2 separate regions of the Homo sapiens genome follow, and region 1 is linked to region 2. Evidence: promoter capture Hi-C in human tissues and cell types (Jung and others, 2019). All regions are on one chromosome and are shown on one strand. Each heading gives the region's core, a stretch centred on a gene start or on the middle of the fragment in contact. The rest is flanking DNA. Distances are from core to core; before and after follow the strand shown.

The links. The method cuts DNA at HindIII sites, captures the fragments that hold promoters and counts their contacts. A contact is called where the count stands out against the background at its distance.
Region 1: a contact is called between a fragment that was not itself captured here and the fragment with the promoter of SLC9A4 in region 2, in 1 of the 25 tissues and cell types used here (small bowel).

Annotation. Positions count from the first base shown.
Region 1 is chr2:102,507,321-102,511,341 of GRCh38, reverse strand. It overlaps SLC9A4 (solute carrier family 9 member A4), which reads right to left. Exons shown (of 12, transcript NM_001011552.4): 5 at 3,061-3,263; 6 at 2,409-2,495. Among named protein-coding and RNA genes, the nearest start is that of SLC9A4, 36 kb to the right of the region's middle. The HindIII fragment of the contact is 5,271 bases long and covers 1-4,021 here.
Region 2 is chr2:102,471,489-102,475,402 of GRCh38, reverse strand. It overlaps SLC9A4 (solute carrier family 9 member A4), which reads right to left and starts at 2,177. Exons shown (of 12, transcript NM_001011552.4): 1 at 1,388-2,177. The coding sequence starts at 1,643. The HindIII fragment of the contact is 8,886 bases long and covers 1-3,914 here.

The DNA.
Region 1 (4,021 bases), core at 320-2,819, 37 kb before region 2:
TAAAGATAGATGTTAAGTTGTTACATGTTTTAAAACAGTCACTACTTATCCTTATCTGTTAATTATTTTCAAATGGCCTTGAAAATTTTTCATTAGGATTTCCTGGAATTTAAATAACCAAATTTCCTAGGTCACTTTGACCATGAACTTTAGGGTAGATTTTGGAAGACTTCATCATTCATCAGTTTCTCTAGTATTAAAATGGTGAATTCTCAGGGATAGAGGAAACCTAAAATTTTTCAAGTTCAACTATCTCCTCAAAGCTTGAATCTCATGTGCAGCAACTATGCCACATGTTCCCAATCACTGGTTAGACACATCCACTTCAGCTTCGGGTGTGCCAATCAGGAAATGATTGTCAGAATGCTCTTTCATTAACTGAGTTGAAGTCTCCACCTATAACCCTTCAGACATTAGTTCTCATTTCTATTCCTTGGAGCTGTACACAGTGGTATCCCTTCAATGTTGTGCTGAACTTGAACAAACAAATAGAAACCATGCCCAGTGTCATATTCATCTTTGCCTGACTGGGATGTTTTCACTAAAATCTGCCACTCGGCCATGTTTGCAAAAGAAGTAATACCCTTTGCCCCTCCTATATTCAAAAAGGGCAGAGGACCCCATATTTCATTGGAACGGTGATTTTAGAAACAAACAGGACAATTTTGAATGTTAGTCACTGTGATAGTATTTTGAGGTATCAATTTAGACAGGCAAGTCCCCGGTTATTCAATCAAACAGTACTCTAGATGTTGCTGTAAATGTATTTTATAGATCTGATTAAAGTCCATAATCAGTTGTCTTAAGGGAGATGACCCCAGATAATCTGGGTGGGACTGATTCAGTTGAAATGTCTTAAGAACAGGCCTGAGGCTTCCCTGATGAAGAAAAAATCCTACTTGTAGACAGCAGCTTTGGCTCATGCCTGAGGGTTCCAGCCTGCTCTTCTGGATGGCCTGTCCCCTGGATTTTGGGCTTTCCTAGCCAGCCCTAACACTAGTGAAAAACAATTCCTTACAACAAATCTCTTCCTATATCTATATCTATATCTATATCTATATCTATATCTGTATCTGTATCTGTATCTGTATCTGTATCTGTATCTGTATCCGTATCCGTATCTGTATCTATATCTATATCTATCTATATCTATATCCATCCATCCTACTGGCTCTGCTTCTCTGTTGAACCCTGATGGAAACATCACCAGCTTGGACAAAAAAGGAGGACAAAATGAAAGAAAGATGTCGGACCCTCACAATTCTATAAGCAAGAAATAGACTGATAAAATTACTCAGCTGCAAATTTATGCTACCTTTATAAAAAAAAAAAAAGGAAGTATGATTCAGAGGGTGAAATTGAGAACCCAGAGGGTGGAACAAAGAGTTGCAAGAGATTAGGGGATTCCCAGCCCTTGGAACCAAATAGAGCTTGCCCAGGAAACATTGAAGTTTGCTTAGTATCGATGACTCCTTTTTTTCTTCCATTATCTCCATAGTTTTTTGAAAGGCAACAGTTACAACTGTTATTCAATGAGTGTCCTACCATATATTTTAAGAGCAGATAACTTGTTTCCTGAGTTTTGCAAATTCATAGATGAAGAGAAACTGAGCCTCAGAATAGATTATACCCAGAGCCTCACTGAGCCCTGCTCTAGATGATGGAGATATTGAGATTTGGGATTTTTGAACTGATAAGATTCAGATGATATTTTGGATTTTGAATTGATGATGCAGTGTATTGAGACTTTTGGGGTATTGGGATAGAAGGAAGATATTTTGCATGTGGAACAGATATGAATCTTTGGGAGACAGACGGCAGACTGTGGTAGGGAGAACAATGACCTTGCAAAGATATCCATGTCTTAATCCCCAGAACTTGTGAATATGGTAGTTTAGTTTAAAGGAGGATTAAGTGGCAGATGGACTTAAGGTTGCTAATCAGCTGACCTTAAGCTGGAGACAGTCTCCTGAACTATCCACGTGGCTGCAGTGGGATCATAAAGCTCCTTCAGTGTGGAAGAGGGAGGCAGAAGGATCATTGTTGGAGGGATGCAGCCTTTGCAGGCTCTGAAGATGGAAGGGGCCATGGGCCAAGGAACACAGGCAGCCTCTGGAAGCTGTGGGAGGTGAGGAAACAGATTCTCCCCAGGGCCTCCAGAAAGGAGCGCAGCCCTGCAACAACTGGATTTTGAACTTCCGACCTCCAGAACTATAAGACAATAGATCTGCATTGTTTTAAGCACTAAGTTTGTGGCAATTTCCTACAGCAGCCATAGGAAACTTATACAGTCACTCTTGGCAGAGTGGGGAAGGAAAGAGGAAGTCTAGTGACACGTGCACATGTCTCATGGTGACAAAGGGGAAATGTCTTGTTAATTTATTAATTGTGACTATGAGATAACTTACACGAATATGAAGCTCTTCATTGATGGATTCTTTTTTATTGGTTTTTTTAACATCCAGGTACCTGACCAGAGGGCCAACTGTGATTCCCTAGATCAGAAATAACAAAACAAAGGGTTTTGTTGTAATGAAGACTGTCACTAGAGAGAGCAAATTTATTAACAAAACTATTAGAATGTCCAATCTATATGTTTTTGTACTAGCTATTACAGAGTAAATGCTGCAATGTTCATTTCAGTTTTCCATTCCTTTAAGTACTGCAATAAAAATAGATATCATGCCTGTATGTTAATATAGGAATTTGGTTTCACCCATTAAAATAATCTTTCATTAGTTCATTAAGAGCTAACTCCAACTAAAACAAAAACTTGTGCTACGTAGTACTAATTGGAATCTCATTTTCAGAAATATGGAGTGACTATTAGTCACCTGTTACTCAGGAATCTTTTGATAAATATGCTGTATTGATTAAAAGGCAATACATTTTAGAAGTTAAAGGATGGTCACAAACATGATCTAGAAATCTCCGGAAATTTAGTTTGGGTATTGAGCACAGATCTGAAAATCAGATAAAATGCCTTTATTTGTATTTTACTAATTTACTACATTGTCCTGAAATAACCTATTTATTTAAATATAAGGGAAATCTACTTACCTGAATAAATACAGTAAAGTATATAACTACTAGAGTAGCAGTGACAAACATTTTCTTCCTAGGAAAAAGAGACAGAGGAAGCAAAAATGCAAGTGAAAAACTTCCAGCTCCTCGAACACCACTGTAGAAAATGATGCACTGGTCCTTGATGGAGAAGGGGAAAGTCCGAAACTGGTTACTGATATAGAAGAGAGCAAATACGCCTAGAAAGGGGGAAACGTGTATTAGAGCAGAGGATCATGAACGAGCAGAGATACAGAGCTAGTGAACTGAGGTTGTGTGCGCGTGCCCTGCAAACAATGCAGCCTAATTCCATCATACACCCATGATTGTCTATCCCAGGTAGAGTATCTTTTATGGCTTCTCACTTTGATAGTTGTGAGACAGTAGCACTTCAAGTGGGAATCTTCGCTACAGTTTATTGGCATGTGTTGTGTGTATGTGCCTGCATTTATGTGTTTAAATTAATAAAATCTTGATTTTGTTAATGTAAGGTATATATTTTCTAATCTATATTCATAATTTTTGTCCCACCTTTCAAAACTAGTCAAAGCAAGGATATTGTTGAGTGGGTGGGGGGATAAATGCATTCTTATCATCTCATATTCTCATTGGGTATCCAAAGGAGGTCTGTAATTTAAAAATGAGAGGGGTCCTCTTAGAGACCGTGGTCTCTACAATCAAATCCCTTACTGTTGGCTTGTCCCTCTTGAGGTTCAATGCAAGCAAAGAAGGAAGTTGGCAAGGGTTGGGGGGTGAGTGGGCGCTTCTTACTCTCAGTGAGCTTCTCAAACAGAAGGTTTAGGGTGGAAGAGCTTGCTTGAAACATAGAGGAGTTTTCTACCACATTGGTTTTCATCCCCAAGCGGCTCACATAACCTAGGTACCACCAATGCAGTGGTGCCTGCTAGGAAAGGTCCTCACTAAAGCTCTGATGAATCAAAGAAGAGTTTCACTTCGT
Region 2 (3,914 bases), core at 928-3,427:
CCTGGTACTCAGATTGACTTGAGCCATTTCTGTGAAGAGGAAGCCAGGTTGTGGAATGGGGAGCAGGGAACACAGAATCTCTAGCATATTGTTTTAAAAGGAAAACTCAAGTACCAAGTAAGATCACCTTGAACACAATCAGTGTCTATATGATTTCACAAAAGATGTTAGACTGTTCTGAACTGAGAATGTTATCCATTTGGAAAGCCATTTTTACTTGTATACCTCTTAAAAATATAGTAAGATCCTTTGTGTAACTTATTCACTAAGCAAATTGCACAAGACTTCTTCAAACTAACATTCCTATTTAATATTCACACTTTACTAGCTCAAAATGAATAGCAACTATAAAGGAGAGTCTAAAGGGGACACCTATACCAGTGTCCCCACACCCACAGGGAGGGAGCTAAGTGAATAGCCAGAGCACACAGAAGGTAACTGCCAGACCTCAAGGCTCAACCCACATTACACACCCATCCTAGAGAAAACATACACATATAAATAAATGAGAATTAAAATGTTTCATTGATTCTATCTCAATAAGGCAATCTACATACTCAAATAGCATAAAGTTTATAGCTGAGGCAAAGGAGGCATTGTGCTTAGCATTTGAGATAATTATATTAATTTTCCACTTTAGAATAAGCTGGTTTTAAAGAGATAAGGAGGAGCAGTTAGGGATTAAACAGTCACAGAGTATAGCCACCTCTTTGGTTTTTGACACAAAGATCCCTTGATTGGAATTTAATCTATTAACTTGGATTCACTTTATTTCACAAAGGAAATTAGAGGTGCCTCACTGGCCCCACTTGGTAGGTATAAACTAATATTTTACTGACAGATATAATCTTATATGCCCCGACATCCCATCACTGAGTAATACAAGTTGCCTATGGTTTTCTTGTTTTTTGCTTTCTGTCAATTTGCAAGAAGCACACGCTACTTTTAAAGAATAAACAATGGGGTGATTGATGAAGCCCACAATTACACAGCCAAGAATATTTTACAGAAGAAACATTATGTGTTTCCTGAAATTTCCACCTTGCATCATGCCCAGGTCTACGTGCTTTATTCTCTATATTTTTAAAGCATAGAATTTGAGAGTTTTGCATGTCAACAATGTCACATGGTTGTCACCCTGAAATGAGAAGAAACCAACACAGCCCAGTACCCAGAAGTATGCTCTCAAATTTCAAAGAGCAATCTCAAAGTATTAAATAGCTTAGTAAAATGCAGTTATGACTTTCCCTTGACTGAAGGGAAGAGAATTTTTAATGTAATAGCAGTAACAGTTAAAATCCTCTTAGCCCGTTATCTATAAGGCATTTTCACATTCACTATCTTATGTAAAAAGATAACTCACCAAACCAGGTGTTTAAGGACTTACCTATTTTTGCAAGGGATGCTAGAAGTATCCAGAGAGTGACCTCATAAGGAATTTGCACATAGTCATAATCCAGTTCAAAAACAGATATCCCTTCCTCTGGCTCTGAGCTGGCAGCAGCAAACCAAGCGTTAGATGCATACTGAGCAGTGGAATTTGCAGATTCATTCAAATCAGAAGATGCTTCAGAACACTCAAGAGCCACTAGCAGTAGCAAACAATTCCAAGGACTGTAAGTCACGAACATCTGCAGAGCCATTCCTGTGGGCTTCTCCTACCTACACCCCTGTGTGGATGTGTGCCACACATCTGAAGTCGGGGAGGCTTCTAGAGAGTGACTGCATCCACCTGGGTCAAAAGTAATATAGGTACAGTCTGTGGGTCCTCCCAAGAAGATTCCGAGTGTGTTATTGAGCTCTGTATGTAGACACTTTCTAATCTGGTTTAAATCGTTTGTGTTCAGGCAACTCAGCTTCCAACTCAAATGCAGTTATTCAATAGACTTGTTAAAGTCCATGGAGCTACCTGGAGGACCTCCATCCAATCATGGCTTGAGCAATTTATGAAAGAAATAAAAATCTCTTCACTTAAAGGCATTTCCTCATTTCACTGCATACTGGCTTTGTCTTGTGGGTGAAAATTTAAAAGGATACTGTAGTGCTCATTCCACAGATCACTGGAGTCCTTCTAATGAGGAAAGGAAACCTTCCCTGTCTATCAGATCCCAAGAAGGAGCTACCTGATCTGCGCTTGTTCCTTCTCTCCTCCCCCTGTCCTCTCATTTGTTTTGAATGACCACGGCTTCAGGTAGCTCTGGAACTACACTTAATTATTTGCTTTGATTTGACTTTTGTAATGAAATCCTTTCTCTGAGGGTTCTCTGGAGGTCACACTGCTGACACCTAGTGGGCACCTGCAATACAACACCCTTGACACTTTCAGTTATGAACGTTAAGGTGACCATGAAATTATCTAAACCAGGACACTTTGGGGAATGAATAATAATGATAATTATGCAAAGCTATAGGCACAAACCAGAATTGTCCAGCAAACTGTCTTATATGGTCTCTATACATGAGGAAGAAGGAGGATAAGAAGGAGGTGGTAACAACAAGGATGGTAGCAAACACTGAAACTTTTGCATGTTACCAGACTCCATGAGCAGTCATTCATAGAAGGAATGAAGTTCCAGATCTCTATGAACTTTACACTATAATTTTTAAAAAACAGGAAGCCAAAGAACAAGTTCCATAAATACACCTAAATACCTGGATTTGTAAAACTCCATGGCACATCCAGATTTTCCATTTAAAAAACATTTGTTGTTGTTAAAAAGAAGCAGCATCATAGAATGTTGATGAAAGAATTTTGAGATAATTTTTATGAGCCTACTTCTCGCTCTTCTACTTGTTGCCAGGTGACCTTGGTGAAGTTAATTACCTTTCAGAAATTCCTTATCTGAAACAGAGAGGAAAATATCTGCCTCATTGAGTAGCTAGGAACATTAAATGAGATAAAGCAAGTAAAGAATTTGGCATGTAGTTGGCACTTAAATGTTAGTTTTTATTTTAAATTACATTTCTTATACTTTTAGGATAAGATACAACACTTTTGCAATGATTACTGATACTCAGTAAAAAATGAGAATAATACATCATCCATATACTACCCCAACATCTCTTTTACATCAAACTGCAAGATGCTTTGTGTTTTGTTTTTTCTTAGTTCATATTAGTGAGTGCAGGGGATTTCCCCCCAGCCAACACACACACACACACACACACACACACACACACACACACACACACACTCAGCTAACATCACTGGGAAATTGAGAAAGGAATGGTTGAGAAGGGCTAACACCTAGATGCAAATTCATAGTGAGGCAATAGAATTAAAAGTTCACATATGAATATTTTTTCTTTTTCCTTCAGTTTGACTCCAGAATAGATTAGATTCAGTCACTGAAATGAGACTATCAGGTGGACTACAAGAAGGGTACACATATTGAGTCGATTATTTTTTCTCAAAGAATATATGAATATCCTTTAATAGAAAGCTGCTTTATAATAGGTGTTTTATTTTTATTTGCATTTTATTGTACTTTTCTTTCTAAAAAGAAATGAGGGAGCAAGTCTCACATAGTGCCTTGTGGAAAGACCAAAATGAAGAATCAAAAGACTTATGTACTCAGACATTAGTTATCTGATTGGCTTTGGAAAATTACCTGTTTGAGCCTTATAGTTTGAGCCTTTATAGTTTTCTCATCTATAAAATAAAGATGCTGTCCATACCTGGTAACCCTTTCCTGCTCTAAAATTCCAAATTTTGTGAGTATATGGCAACCCGTTTAGCCTTATGATCACCTGATGGCTGATAGTCCAGTCCCTCTCAGAGTAAAAATGCCAATCTTGGGAGGATGGTAAGAGAACAACTTGAGCTCTGCAACAGTCTACTAACTTGTGGTCCAGGTTAAGATGTAGCAGCCCACTTCATCAACCATCGGCATCACTTCCACTCATGCAGTACT